3 separate regions of the Homo sapiens genome follow, and regions 1 and 2 are each linked to region 3. Evidence: promoter capture Hi-C in 16 types of primary human blood cells and fetal thymus (Javierre and others, 2016). All regions are on one chromosome and are shown on one strand. The core of a region is centred on a gene start or on the middle of the fragment in contact, and the rest is flanking DNA. Distances in the headings are between cores, read along the strand shown.

Region 1 (4,033 bases), core at 994-3,493, 920 kb before region 3:
CAAAATATAAAAGAAAAAAGGAAGAAAGAGAAGGAAACTTCCATTCTGAGTGCTCACTACCTTCTTTCATTTTCATTTCTCTGGCTTTAGATTCCCACATGGTTCATGACTTTCCAGAATACCAGGGCATATTGACATACAAACCATGAACAAGGAAGGAAAAATCACAAACTTGTCTCCCATTGCTCAGAGTGGCACAGGTTTTAAAGTGGCACACCCATCATAGGTTTCTCTATTCTGTTTCTTCTCCCTAAATCGCAGGAGCTTAGAGGCTTGGGTTCCCAGGACTATGGAGTCTACTAATCTGGCCTCTTTCTACTCTCCAAATTGAGACCTCTCACCTCTTTTTATTTTCTGGAAAAATAGTACTGTTCTATTTTGTTTGTCCTGCTATAACAAAATACCTGAGACTGAGAATTTACTAGGAGCAAAAATTTATTTCTTACCATTCTAGAGGCTTAGTTCAAGACCAAGGAGTTGGCAGTTGGTATCTGATGGGGGCCTTCCTGCTTACTCCTCTCATGGTGGAAGGCAGAAGAGAGTGAACCCACGCCCTCAAGCTCATTTATAAAGGCCTTCATCCCATCCATGAGGGCTTTGCCCTCAGGAATTAATCACTTTCTAAAGGCCCCATCTCTTAATACTACCACATTGGCAATTGTTTCAACATATGAATTTTGGGGGACACATTCAGTTCATAGCAGTGTTCTTTCCTAGGTGAACCTCCTTTGGCTTCTGGCTGAAGCTGTGGGTGCTGTCACCTGCTCCCCCACACTAACTTGGCAGAATGGTGGGTGCAGTTTCTGCAGGTTTGTATTCTCCCCTAGCTTCACTCTTCTGCCTTCTATTTAGATTCCTCTGGTAGCTGATTTCCTAGCCTGCTCTCTCCTGATTAAATCTTCCAGGATTCTCACATCTATTTGCTCCTCTGCTCTTGTTCTCATGGAACACTGGCTTTCTGAAAAGCTCACATAGGACTTCACTCCAGGCCTCACATATCCATGAAACAAATTTTTGTGTGGGAGGTTCCTGTGGTCTTTTACAAACATGTAAAATATGAAAACCCTATATGGTGATTTCTTTTCCTGTTTAACTTGCTCTTCTTTATCTGAGGTTATCCCTCCATCTCAACTCATGGTTTACTTACTGACCCAATGTCTTTCCTCCCATTTTAGAACAAAAATAATTATAGGTTTGAGATAGGTATCAGGTTTTTCTGTAATAAAGAGAAGGAATCATTTGTTGCTAACTAATCCCAGTGAGAATTTGGGGGGACGGGGAAGGAAAGCTTCTCAGGAAACTAAAGAGCCTGGTGAAATTAGAAAGGAATCACTTCCTACCCTTAGTGTCAGGGATTTAACAGGAATTATCTCTTCTTTCCTTTTCTCCCTTATAGACAATTGCTGTGAGGATAAGAAAAAGGCTGCTTTTATGCATGAGCTTAAGTCTGGATTAAGGAATGAATCACAACTGCTATTTTCTAGAGCCTCTTGTCACTGGGAAAGGCCAGGTCATACCATTTGGCTTCTATTTTATTAATCAATGAACAGCTTAAGAAAGTAGCACAACTTGCAGCTCAGATTGGCACTTTGTCTTCATTTTTCCCCCTTATTAAACAATATCCTTGTTGAGCCACCTGTAATTTCAGAATTTACTCATGTATATGTATTCATTCAACAACATTCAACAGCAAACACATTGTTGAGTACTATGGTGACTGAGTTCGTGAATTAGTGGTCTTAATTCTTCACTCCCCTGTAGTATAATGTACATTCTCATTCTTTTCATGGCTTCATGGTCAGAGGAGTGTACTTTTATGCCCCTTGTCTTTAGACTTGTCCATGGGTCTTTTTTTAATGATGGGATATAGCATACATGCTTTAAGTAAGGCCTTGAATTGTCCTTGTTCTTTTCTCATTGCCATGACAAGAATAGCTGCTATCCCCTTATCCAATGGGCCTCAGTATATGATACATGGTACAGAGATGCCCCAGCCAACTCACACATTTGCAGACTGAAGCAGTACCCTCCCAGCTGATCCACAGATGTGTGAATGAAAAATAAATACTTATTATTAAAACCATTGAGTTTGGGCTTGTTTATTATGCACTGTAGACATCATTTTCACAAAGCTGAGTAATATAGGCATTTAGATAAGGATATGAGACCTAAAACCAAATACAGAGTTTTTAACTTTTAAAATAGACTTACTATTTAGACTCACAGTTTATTAATAAAAATATATGTATAAACAAATACATTATTGCAATAAAATAAAGTTTGCAAAGAAGTATGAAGAAGCATATGGGAGTATATAGTTGAAAATACCTCATTCTGTCTTGAGAGGTCAAGAGAAAGTTGTCCATGGAAGAAACAAGGTTGAAACATTTGGATCTGGGGGAGAGGGACAGTGAGAACATTTCAGGCGGGAGAGTACAAACAGGAAACAGCACAGCTGGTTAAATCAGACATTAACCATGTTAATACCATATAATGTTAAATCAGACATTAACATTATATCATGAAAATGATGGACAATCAAAGGGGCCATATCACATATAGAGTAAGAAGAAATCTTGAGCACTTACCTGTAAAGGGTGCTGAAACAGCACAGGAGTTTAGAAGAAATAGAGAGCCAGTTAACACAAAGAAGAGAGTCCTTGTATAGCTGCCAAAATATAAATTGATCTTATTGCTGCCAATGTGGTCAGGAATCTCAAGTTGGGGGAAAAATCCTTGAAGCATTGACCTTATTGACCTTGGCTGTATTAAATACATGGTGAACAACTGTTTGAGGATTATCAGTTTGAAGGACTGCCAAATCATTTGACAACTAGGAACTCCAAGTCTTGATCCACAACATTTTCATCTTGTGGATGAGAAAACTAAGATTCAGAAGACCAAAATGTACTCAAATTCAAAAACCTAAAACCAGAAACCAGGTCTGATTTATCACTCCTGACTTCTTTCTACTATACTTTTTCCTGCCTTAAATTTACCAAAGCCTACGGAGAATGGGGAGATCTGCACAGGTAGAAGAGTCAGAATTGAGGTTTAAGAATATATATCACTATAATAATAAAGAATTAAGAGTTAGGAGAACAGAGAAGTTCCACATGCATAGAAACATCCATGATACCATGTCGTTTTCGACAAGAATGTGAATGTTTAGGGTTTTACAGAATGCCACCATACAAGGTAAGCTTTAGTTTTGGAAAAGTCACTTATGGTAAATTGACTAAACAGATGGGGTAGAAATTAATAAGAGCAGCTCCTCAGAAACACATCTAGAAGAAGCTACAACTGGCCTAACATCTTGCTTATTACCAACAGAGCTGTTGGGAGTAAAATACCTTCTAAAGCCAAGCACACAATGAAGAAAACTGAACAAAATAAACTGACACAATTCAGCAATATTATCTTCTGGGAAAATCTGGAAGATGTAAAGGCACTACTCTGTGCTTTTCTTCTCTTAATAACATCTAATATCTTCTATAAGATTAAATATTTTGGCGAAAAAACCAGAATCCTCTTTTACAGCTTGATAGAATTGTATCTATTCTTACAGATGATTTCAGATCCCTTCAAATATCCCTTGGAAGGACAGAATAGGTTATTCCTAAGCCATAGAATTCCCAGTAGTACATATTATAGCAAGGGACACTGAATGAGCAACCAATTAGCATTAACTGAGCACAAGTGTGCCCAAGACGGAGCATGTGTTGTTCACTTCACATTCTCCTGAGGCAGATGTCATGTCTTTCTCACACGTGTTCAGTAGGACTGGTGCAGATTCTGAGCTCTCATCTCTAAATGAAAATTGAACCATCAGTATGTGCAGGCTTGACAAAACAACAACAACAACAACAAAAACAGGGCTAGTTCAGTAGTTCAGTCTAAGGGAAAGGACCTGAGCTTTGAGTGAATTTAATGAAAACGTAAAATTATGAAGAACTGTTATTTAGAATATTGACATAAAAAGTGGCCTCTTAAGAGAAGATAAAGGTGAAAGCATTTATTGGTGTAAAAATAA
Region 2 (4,271 bases), core at 1,727-4,226, 940 kb before region 3:
TTATTATGTTGAAGTAGATTCTTTCTATACCAAGTTTTTTCAGGGGTTCATCATGAAGGGATGTTGAATTTTATCAAATGCTTTTAAGCTTCAAGAAAAATGATTATATAGTTTGTGTCTTTCATTCTGTTGCTATGGTGTATCACATTGATGGGTTTGTTTATGTTGAACCTTCTTGCACTCCTGGGATAAATCCCACTTGGTCATGGTGAATAAAATTTTTAATGTGTTGTTGAACTTGGTTTGCTAGTATTTTGTTGAGGATTTCTATATTAATATTCATTAGGGATATTGGCCTGTAGCTTTCTTTATTTGATGTGTCTTTTTCTGGTTTTGGTATCTGGCTAATATTGGCCTTATAGAAAAAGTTTGGAAGTACTCCCTCCTCCTCTATTCTCTGGAATAGTTTGAGTAGGACTGGTACTAGTTCTTCCTATATGTTTGGTAGAAATTGGCAATGAAGCCATCGGGTCCTGGGCTTTTCCTTGCTGGGAGACTTTTTATTATGACTTTGATCTGGTTACTTGTTATTAGTGTGTCTGGGTTATGAATTTCTTCACAATTCAATCTTGGTAGGTTGCTTGTGTCTAGGAATTTATCCATTTTCTCTAGATTTTCAAATTTATTGGCATATAGTTGTTCATAGTAGCCAGTAATGATCCTTTGAATTTCTGTGGTATCAGTTTTAATGTCTCCTTTTTTACCTCTGATTTTATTTATTTGGGTCCTCTCTCTTTTTTCATTAGTCTGGCTAAAGGTTTGTCACTTTGTTTATGTTTTCCAAAAAACCAACTTTTTGTTTCATTGATCTTTTGCATTGTTTTCTTCATTTCAATTTCATTTATTTCTGCTCTGATCTTTTTTTTTCTTCTACTAATTTTGGATTTGGTTTGCTCCTATTTTTCTAGTTTTTTAAGATGTATTATTAGGTTATTTATTTGAAGCTTTTCTTCATTTTTGATGTAGGCACTTATAGCTATAAAGTTCCCTGTTAGTACTGTTTTGCTGTGACTCATAAGTTTTGGCATATTGTTTCTTCATTATCATTTGTTTCAGTAAATATTTCAATTTCCTTCTTAATTTCTTCATTGACCACTGGTCATTCAGGAGCATATTGCTTAATTTTCATGTGTTTGTATGGTTTCCAAAATTCCTCTTGTTCTTGATTTCTAGTTTTATTCTATTGTAGTCAGAGAAGATGCTTGATATTATTTCAGGGTTTTTAAAAAAATGTTTTAAGCTTGTTTTGTGACCTAAAATATGGTCTGTCCTTGAGAATAATACATGTGCTGAGAAAAAGAATTTGTATTCTGCAGCTGTTAGATGAAATCTTTGGTAAATATCTATTAGGTCAATTAGGTCTATCTACAGTGCAGATAAAGTACAATTTTTTAATTGATTTTCTGTCTAGAAGACCTCTCCAGTGCTGAAAATGGGGTGTTGAAATCTCCAGTTATCATTGTAATGTTATCTATTTCTCTCTTTGGCACTAATAATATTTGATTTATGTATCTGGGTGCTCCAGGGTTGGGTGCATATATATTTACAAGTGTTTCATCTCCTTGCTCAATTCACCCTTTATCGTTATATAATGACCTTTTTGTCTCTTCTTATAGTTTTTGTCTTGAAATCTATTTTTTCTCTTCTTTTTTGGTTTCCATTGGCATGGAATATCCTTTTCCATCCCTTTATTTTAAGTCCATGTGTGTCTTCATTGGTGAAGCATGTATCTTGTAGCCAACAGATCACTGAGTCTTGCTTTTTATTCAATCAGCCGCTCTATGTCTTTTTACTGAGAATTTTAGTTCATTTACATTCAATGTTATTATTGATTAATATGAACTTACTTCTGCCATTTTGCTATTTGTTTTCTGGCTTTGTGGCCTTCTCTTCCTTCTTCCCATCCTTCTCTTTGTCCTTTTTGTGAAGATGATTTTCTCTGGTGGTATGATTTAATTTCTTGGTTTTTCTTTTTTGTTTATTGGTCGTATGTTTTTGATTTGAGATTACAATGAGGCTTGCAAATATAACTCATTATTTTAAGCTCATAACAAATTTAAACTGCTTGCATAAACAAACTAACAAGCAAAAAGAAAACTAATAAAAATTCTACACTTCAACTTTGCCCCCTACTTTTTAACTTTTTGTTTGTATTTATCTTATCGTATTGTCTATGTCTTGAAAAGTTGGCATAGTTCTTATTTTTGAGTGGTTCATCTTTTAGTCTTTCTACTTAAGATATGAGTAGTTTATCTACCGCAGAGTATTATAATAGTCTGTGTTTTTCTGTGTACTTGCTATTTATTACCAGTGAGTTTTGTACCTTCAAATGATTTCTTTTTTTCTGATTGAAGTACTCCCTTTAGCATTTCTTGCAGGACACATCTAGTGTGAGTGAAATTCCTCAGCTTTTGTTTGTCTGGGAAATTCTTCATTTCTCCTTAATGTTTGAAGGATATTTTCACCAGATATATTATTCTAGGATAAAAGATTTTTTCTTTCAGCACTTTAAGTATGTCACACCCCTCTTTCCTGGCCTGTAAGGTTTCCATTGAATAGTCTGCTACCAGACACATTGGAGCTCCATTGTGTTATTTGTTTCTTTTTTCTTGCTGCTTTTATAATCCTTTAATGGTTTATCTTTGGGAGTTTGATTATTAAATGCCTTGTGGTGATCTTCTTTATGTTAAATCTGTTTGGTGTTCTGTAACATTCTTATATTTGAATTTTGAAATTTTCTCTAGGTTTGGGAAGTTCCGTGATATTATCTTTTCGAATAAACTTTATACCCCTATCCATTTCTCTACTTTCTTCTTTAAGGCCAATAACTCTTAGATTTGCCCTTTTGAGGCTATATTCCAGATCTTGTAAGTGTGCTTCATTGTTTTTTATTATTTTTCATTTTATCTCCTCTGAGTGTGTATTTTCAAATAGCCTGTCTTCAAACTCAGAAATTCTTTCTTCTGCTTGATCAGTTCTGCCACTAAGAGACTCCAATGCATTCTTTAGTATGTCACTTGCATATTTCAGCTCCAGAATTTTTGCTTGATTCTTTTTAATTATTTCAATCATCTCTTTATTAAATTTCTTTGATAGAATTCTGATTTCCTTGTCTGTATTATGTTGAATTTCTTTAAGTTTCCTCAAAACAGCTATTTTGGATTGTCTGTCTGAAAGATCACATATTTCTCTTTCTCCAGAATTGGTCCCTTGTGCCTTATTTAATTTGTTTGGTAGGTGACAGTTTCCTGAATGGTGTTGATGCTTATGATTGTTCATCAATGTCTGGGAATTGAAGAGTTAGGTATTTATTTTAGTCTGTGCCGTCTGGGCATGTTTCTACCTGTCCTCCTTGGGAAGGCCTTCCAGGTATTTTAAAGGACTTGGGTGTTGTGATGTAAGCTGTTTCTGCATTAGGGACACCCCAAGCCCAGTAACACTGTGATTCTTGCATACTTGTAGAAGTACTACATTGGCAGCCTTGGATAAAATCTGGAGGAATCTTGTGGATTACCAGAGAGAGAGACTCATTCTCACTTTTTCTCCCAAACCAATGAAGTCTCTCTCTGTGTGCTGAGCCATGCAGAGCTGGGGGAGGGGTGACATGAGCATCCTGTGGCCACCGCCACTGGGGCTGTGCTGGATCAGAACTGAAGCCAGCACAGCACTGGGTCTCACCAAAAGCCCACTGTAACCACTACCTGGCTATTGTTTATGGTCACGTAAGGCCCTAGGGCTTCACAATCAGCAGGTGGCAAAGCCAGCCAAGTTTTTGTCCTGCCCTTCAGGGTGGCAAGTTCCTCCAGACCCTGGGCAGGTCCAGAGATACTGTCCAGGAGCCATGGAGTGGAATCAAAATACTTAGAAATCTACCTGATATTCTATTCTACTGCAGCTGAGCTGGTGCTCAAGCCACATGACACAGATCTGGCCACTCTTCTCTTCCTTTTCCAGAGGCAGAGGAGCTTCTCCCCATGGCTACCATCACTACTGGCCCATAGGGAGTACTGCCACTCTTGTGGCAAACTTCTCTTTATTTTTCCCTCCTCTCTCCTTAAGCAGAGTAAAGTCAGTTTTGTTGCTGTGAACTGTGCTGCCTGAGGTTGGGGGAGGGGTGGTGCAAGCACTCCCTCAATCTCTATGGCTGGTGTCTCACTGTCACATTCCCCCCAAGTACATTGGCTCTGAGCCCAGCACAGCCTTTGGACTTGCCTAGGAATTGTAGTCGTGTGGCCTACACTGCATTTCAAGTTTGTGTGTACTCCAGCACA
Region 3 (3,754 bases), core at 525-3,024:
AACCCTTAAGCTGTGACCTTTCTGAGGCCCATTTCCACAAGCAAATGCCGTGTCTTTTTCAAGATAAAGGGTTATATTTGCTGTAGTATTTATGCATTTCTTAAGCATTTATCATGTGTAAATTCTTGCTACCATTTTTATTAGGTCTTGATCTGATTTTTATGGTCCATTGACAAAGTTTCTGAGTGCTCTGTCCTAAACCTCATGTTACCCATTAAGTCCTGTAGTTTTAATTGAACTTTTTTTTTCAGTGATACCGTATCTAAATAAATCCCTGGTGGTTACCAGGTGAATATAAATAAGTGTGTATATGCATACATACATTCATACATATATAATATTCGAACACAATTGAGGCATTTTGACATAAATCCAAAAAATTCCTTTTATATTTTAGAGGTAAATAAGCCTTTAAAAGTATTTATTAAATGTACTTGGGAGGATTTATTCAAAAAAGACTATCAATTATATTAAATAAAAGCCATTCAATACGCCAAGCTATATATAGATGTCTCCATAGTGGGTGAAGATGTGTCATTTATCTTTTAAGATAATTATGCAAACTATATTGAGCACACACATCCTGAGCTGGGAAATGACTTTTACATCTTTCTCCTCATTTATAAATCTTTTCCAACAGAAGTTATGCAAGATTCAGACTGGTCAGCACAGAGCTGGATTTTGGTGGTCCCTTTACAATAGGAGAGAATCCATTTTCCTCCTTAGGGTCTTTCTTTTCTTTAACGAAGGCATACAGAGCACTCAGCACATTCCCAGAGCTTCTTAGAATTTTTCCCTTGAGAGATCTCAGGAAATATGAGGAAAAACAACTTCAAAAAAATTAATGAAAGGCCTATCACTGTCTGCCTTTCTCTCTTTTAATCCCTGCCCTATCCTTTCTACTTTCTAGAAGTGTAGTGCCCCTTCAGTTTCAAACATTTTTCCTCTCCTTAAATTCCCAAGGTGGGATGCCCTTTTCTGGCACTCCGTCTATGAAAGGGACAGGGAAAAGATCTTATAGAAACTGAACCCTGACACGGGGCTTATTTTCCTAAGGACCAAAACATAAAAGGACAGGGTGGGACCATGGAAGGATTAATTTCAGGCAAGGGCAGCCTGTGGAGAGTGAGAAATCTGAAAAGGCTCTAGGCTTCTATGGGCATTCCCCTCCACTTCTTCTGCCTGCTGCCAGATGACTCTCACATGTGAATCCTTATTTCCTCAGGAATGCGGATCAGGGTTTGGCAAGTATGTTTTCAGTAAATAATTGCTGAATGTTCAACGCTTAAAGGCAGAAGCATAACTTTGAGTGTGCACAGTAATCACTGAAAATGATTCTGTACTCACCGTTTTGATGCAAATGCAAATTCTCATAGCCCCTGCACTGACTCCGTGGGTCACCTGTGAGTAACTCTAGCCAAAAGCCACGCACAAGCCCTGGTCTGCCTCCAGGCAGCAGACCACAACACAGTGCCCTGAGTGCACCTGCACACACCCATGGGCACACATTAAACCCATAAACGGCGGGTTATGCTAACGTGTACTTCCTTCCTCACTGCCTCACCTTGTTCATTTTCCTTTTTCCCCACCCCTCACCCCATACAATAGGATTTTTGTTTGCTTCAGTAGCATGTGACAGCACAGTCCCTGCTTTGCCTAGCTCTGTGCTGCAAGTCTCTCAGGTAACAGGTGGCAGCTTCCCCTGTTGGATTCTAGGTTTAAAAAAGAATGACCTCATGTGGGTGGAGCTCTGGGACTTCGTAGAGGTGGTGGCAGTCACAGCCAGGTAACCCTGGAGTGAAGCGGTTTAGTTAGAAGGGAGCAGATAAACTCGTCACTCTAGTAGCTTTAACCCTCACCCTGAGGCACCTTAGCAATCAGCCATTGCCTGCAAGCCTCCAAAGCTTGTCTTTGCCTAATATGGAGCCCAAAGAAGCCACTGGGAAAGAAAACATGGTCACCAAGAAAAAGAATCTGGCCTTCTTGAGGTCTAGACTCTATATGCTGGAGAGAAGGAAGACTGACACTGTGGTTGAGAGCAGTGTTTCTGGGGACCACTCTGGCACCTTGAGGAGGAGCCAATCTGACAGGACCGAATACAACCAGAAATTACAAGGTAACCAAAAAGAAATCAATTGTCCCAGTTACTGCACTCCCAGCTCCATTTCTGCTACGTTTCCAATTGCAAAGAAAACACACAAGGCAGAGGGGAAAATTGAATACCACCTCTCCTTCCCACAAAATAAGAAGATGAAAGTAAATGTGACCTATAAATTATAGGGAAAAAAATTTATTACGTGATTCAATGTTAAAGAGTCAATTCCGAATTACTCTTAATATTGCTGTGTTTTTCTTTTTTTTTTCCTGGTGAGGGTAATCATTTTTCTTCTAACTTCCTCTTTTCTTCTCCCTTCTCTACCCAACTTAAGAAGTGGGAAACACTGGAAAGCAAATGAGTTAGAAACCTACAAAAGATTGTTTATCTCAATGGGTAGATATGTGATATTACACCATGAGATATATCTAGGTAATGGTACTGAACTATGATTGTGGTTATCTTAAATAGGGGCATGAAACTATAATCGTGTCTGTGACAAAGAAGGAATGTTATAGTCAGAGAGACGGTATAAAAAGATTTGCTGAAATTCACTTAGGTGATTATTTCCTTTGAGTAAATTGAATAATACTCAAATATGGTAAGAAATGTTTAGCATGCTTATTTTGAATGACATTTGAGGAAATAACTTCAGTTTATTTTGTGATGGTACAAAGATAATTTGGCACAGTTATGATAGCACATCATTTGTTTCAGGGCCTTAATCTATATCCTGTCCTATCTATCCTTTCTTTCTCTCCTGTTTCCTGAAGGTCATTTGTTCTAGTAAAATTTCATTTTGATGTTGATATTGGGCAGCATTTTAAGTCTTTTCTTCGGTACTTGTTATGTGGTCCTCCAGAACTTGCCTCTCCTGCTTTTAGCACAAGGTGTGTCTGAACTCTCATCATCCCACTGTGAGCTGTCGTTTTGGATTTAAAAACTGTGATGAGGTCAGAAAGACCGATAGGACATGCTTATATTTAACAAATCTCTTTCCACAAATATGAGCTTAGATTTAGTTATGCAAATTAATTAAGTTAAATAAGTTAAATTAAATGCATTTAAATTAAATCTAAAAATTATTACTATAAGTTAATGTGTAAAAATAAAAAAAAAATTACCAGTAGTTCAGCACTAAAGCACAGCATCAATCTTATCCTCAAATACTTTTTTTTTAAAATGAGGGAGAGCATTGTTTAATCTTTGAAATTAATTTTTCTCCAAGCAATAGATACATTGGAAAGAATGGATGTCTTAAAATTTCAACTTTTATTTTAGATTCAGGGGGTATATATGTGTGTTTGTTACTTGCGTATTTTGTGTGATGCTGCGATTTGGGGTACAAATGATCTCATCACCTGGGTACTGAGCATAGTACCCAGTAGGTGGTTTTTCAGCCCTTGCCTCTGTCCGTTTCTCGCCACTCCAGTAGTCTCCAGTATCTATTGTTGCCACCTTTATGTCCATGTATGTCTAATGTTTAGCTCTCACTCATAAGTGAGAACATGCAGTATTTGGTTTGCTGTTCCAGCATTAATTTGCTTAGGATAATGGCCTCCGGTTGTATCCATGTTGCTGTAAAGGACATGATTTTGTTCTTTCTTCTGGCTGTGTAGTATTCCATGATGAATATGTACCATGAGAATTTAAAATCAT

What was found. Contacts are between HindIII fragments. The CHiCAGO score rates a contact against its expected background, and 5 or more counts as called.
Region 1: a contact is called between a fragment that was not itself captured here and the fragment with the promoter of ARHGEF38 in region 3, in 1 of 17 cell types (neutrophils). The highest score is 5.0, in neutrophils.
Region 2: a fragment that was not itself captured here is called in contact with the fragment with the promoter of ARHGEF38 in region 3 in 1 of 17 cell types (neutrophils); the score reaches 5.5 in neutrophils.

What each region holds. Positions count from the first base shown.
Region 1 is chr4:104,631,074-104,635,106 of GRCh38, forward strand. All of the region lies in intron 1 of CXXC4-AS1 (CXXC4 antisense RNA 1), which reads left to right. All of the region lies in intron 1 of LOC124900745 (a long non-coding RNA gene), which reads right to left. Among named protein-coding and RNA genes, the nearest start is that of CXXC4, 140 kb to the left of the region's middle. The HindIII fragment of the contact is 1,915 bases long and covers 1,287-3,201 here.
Region 2 is chr4:104,612,327-104,616,597 of GRCh38, forward strand. The region is part of intron 1 of CXXC4-AS1 (CXXC4 antisense RNA 1); the gene reads left to right. All of the region lies in intron 1 of LOC124900745 (a long non-coding RNA gene), which reads right to left. Among named protein-coding and RNA genes, the nearest start is that of CXXC4, 120 kb to the left of the region's middle. The HindIII fragment of the contact is 3,477 bases long and covers 1,239-4,271 here.
Region 3 is chr4:105,550,846-105,554,599 of GRCh38, forward strand. ARHGEF38 (Rho guanine nucleotide exchange factor 38) reads left to right here and starts at 1,775. Exons shown (of 14, transcript NM_001242729.2): 1 at 1,775-2,116. The coding sequence starts at 1,921. It overlaps LOC105377352 (a long non-coding RNA gene), which reads right to left and starts at 1,439. Exons shown (of 5, transcript NR_188418.1): 1 at 1,348-1,439. The HindIII fragment of the contact is 3,088 bases long and covers 1-1,902 here.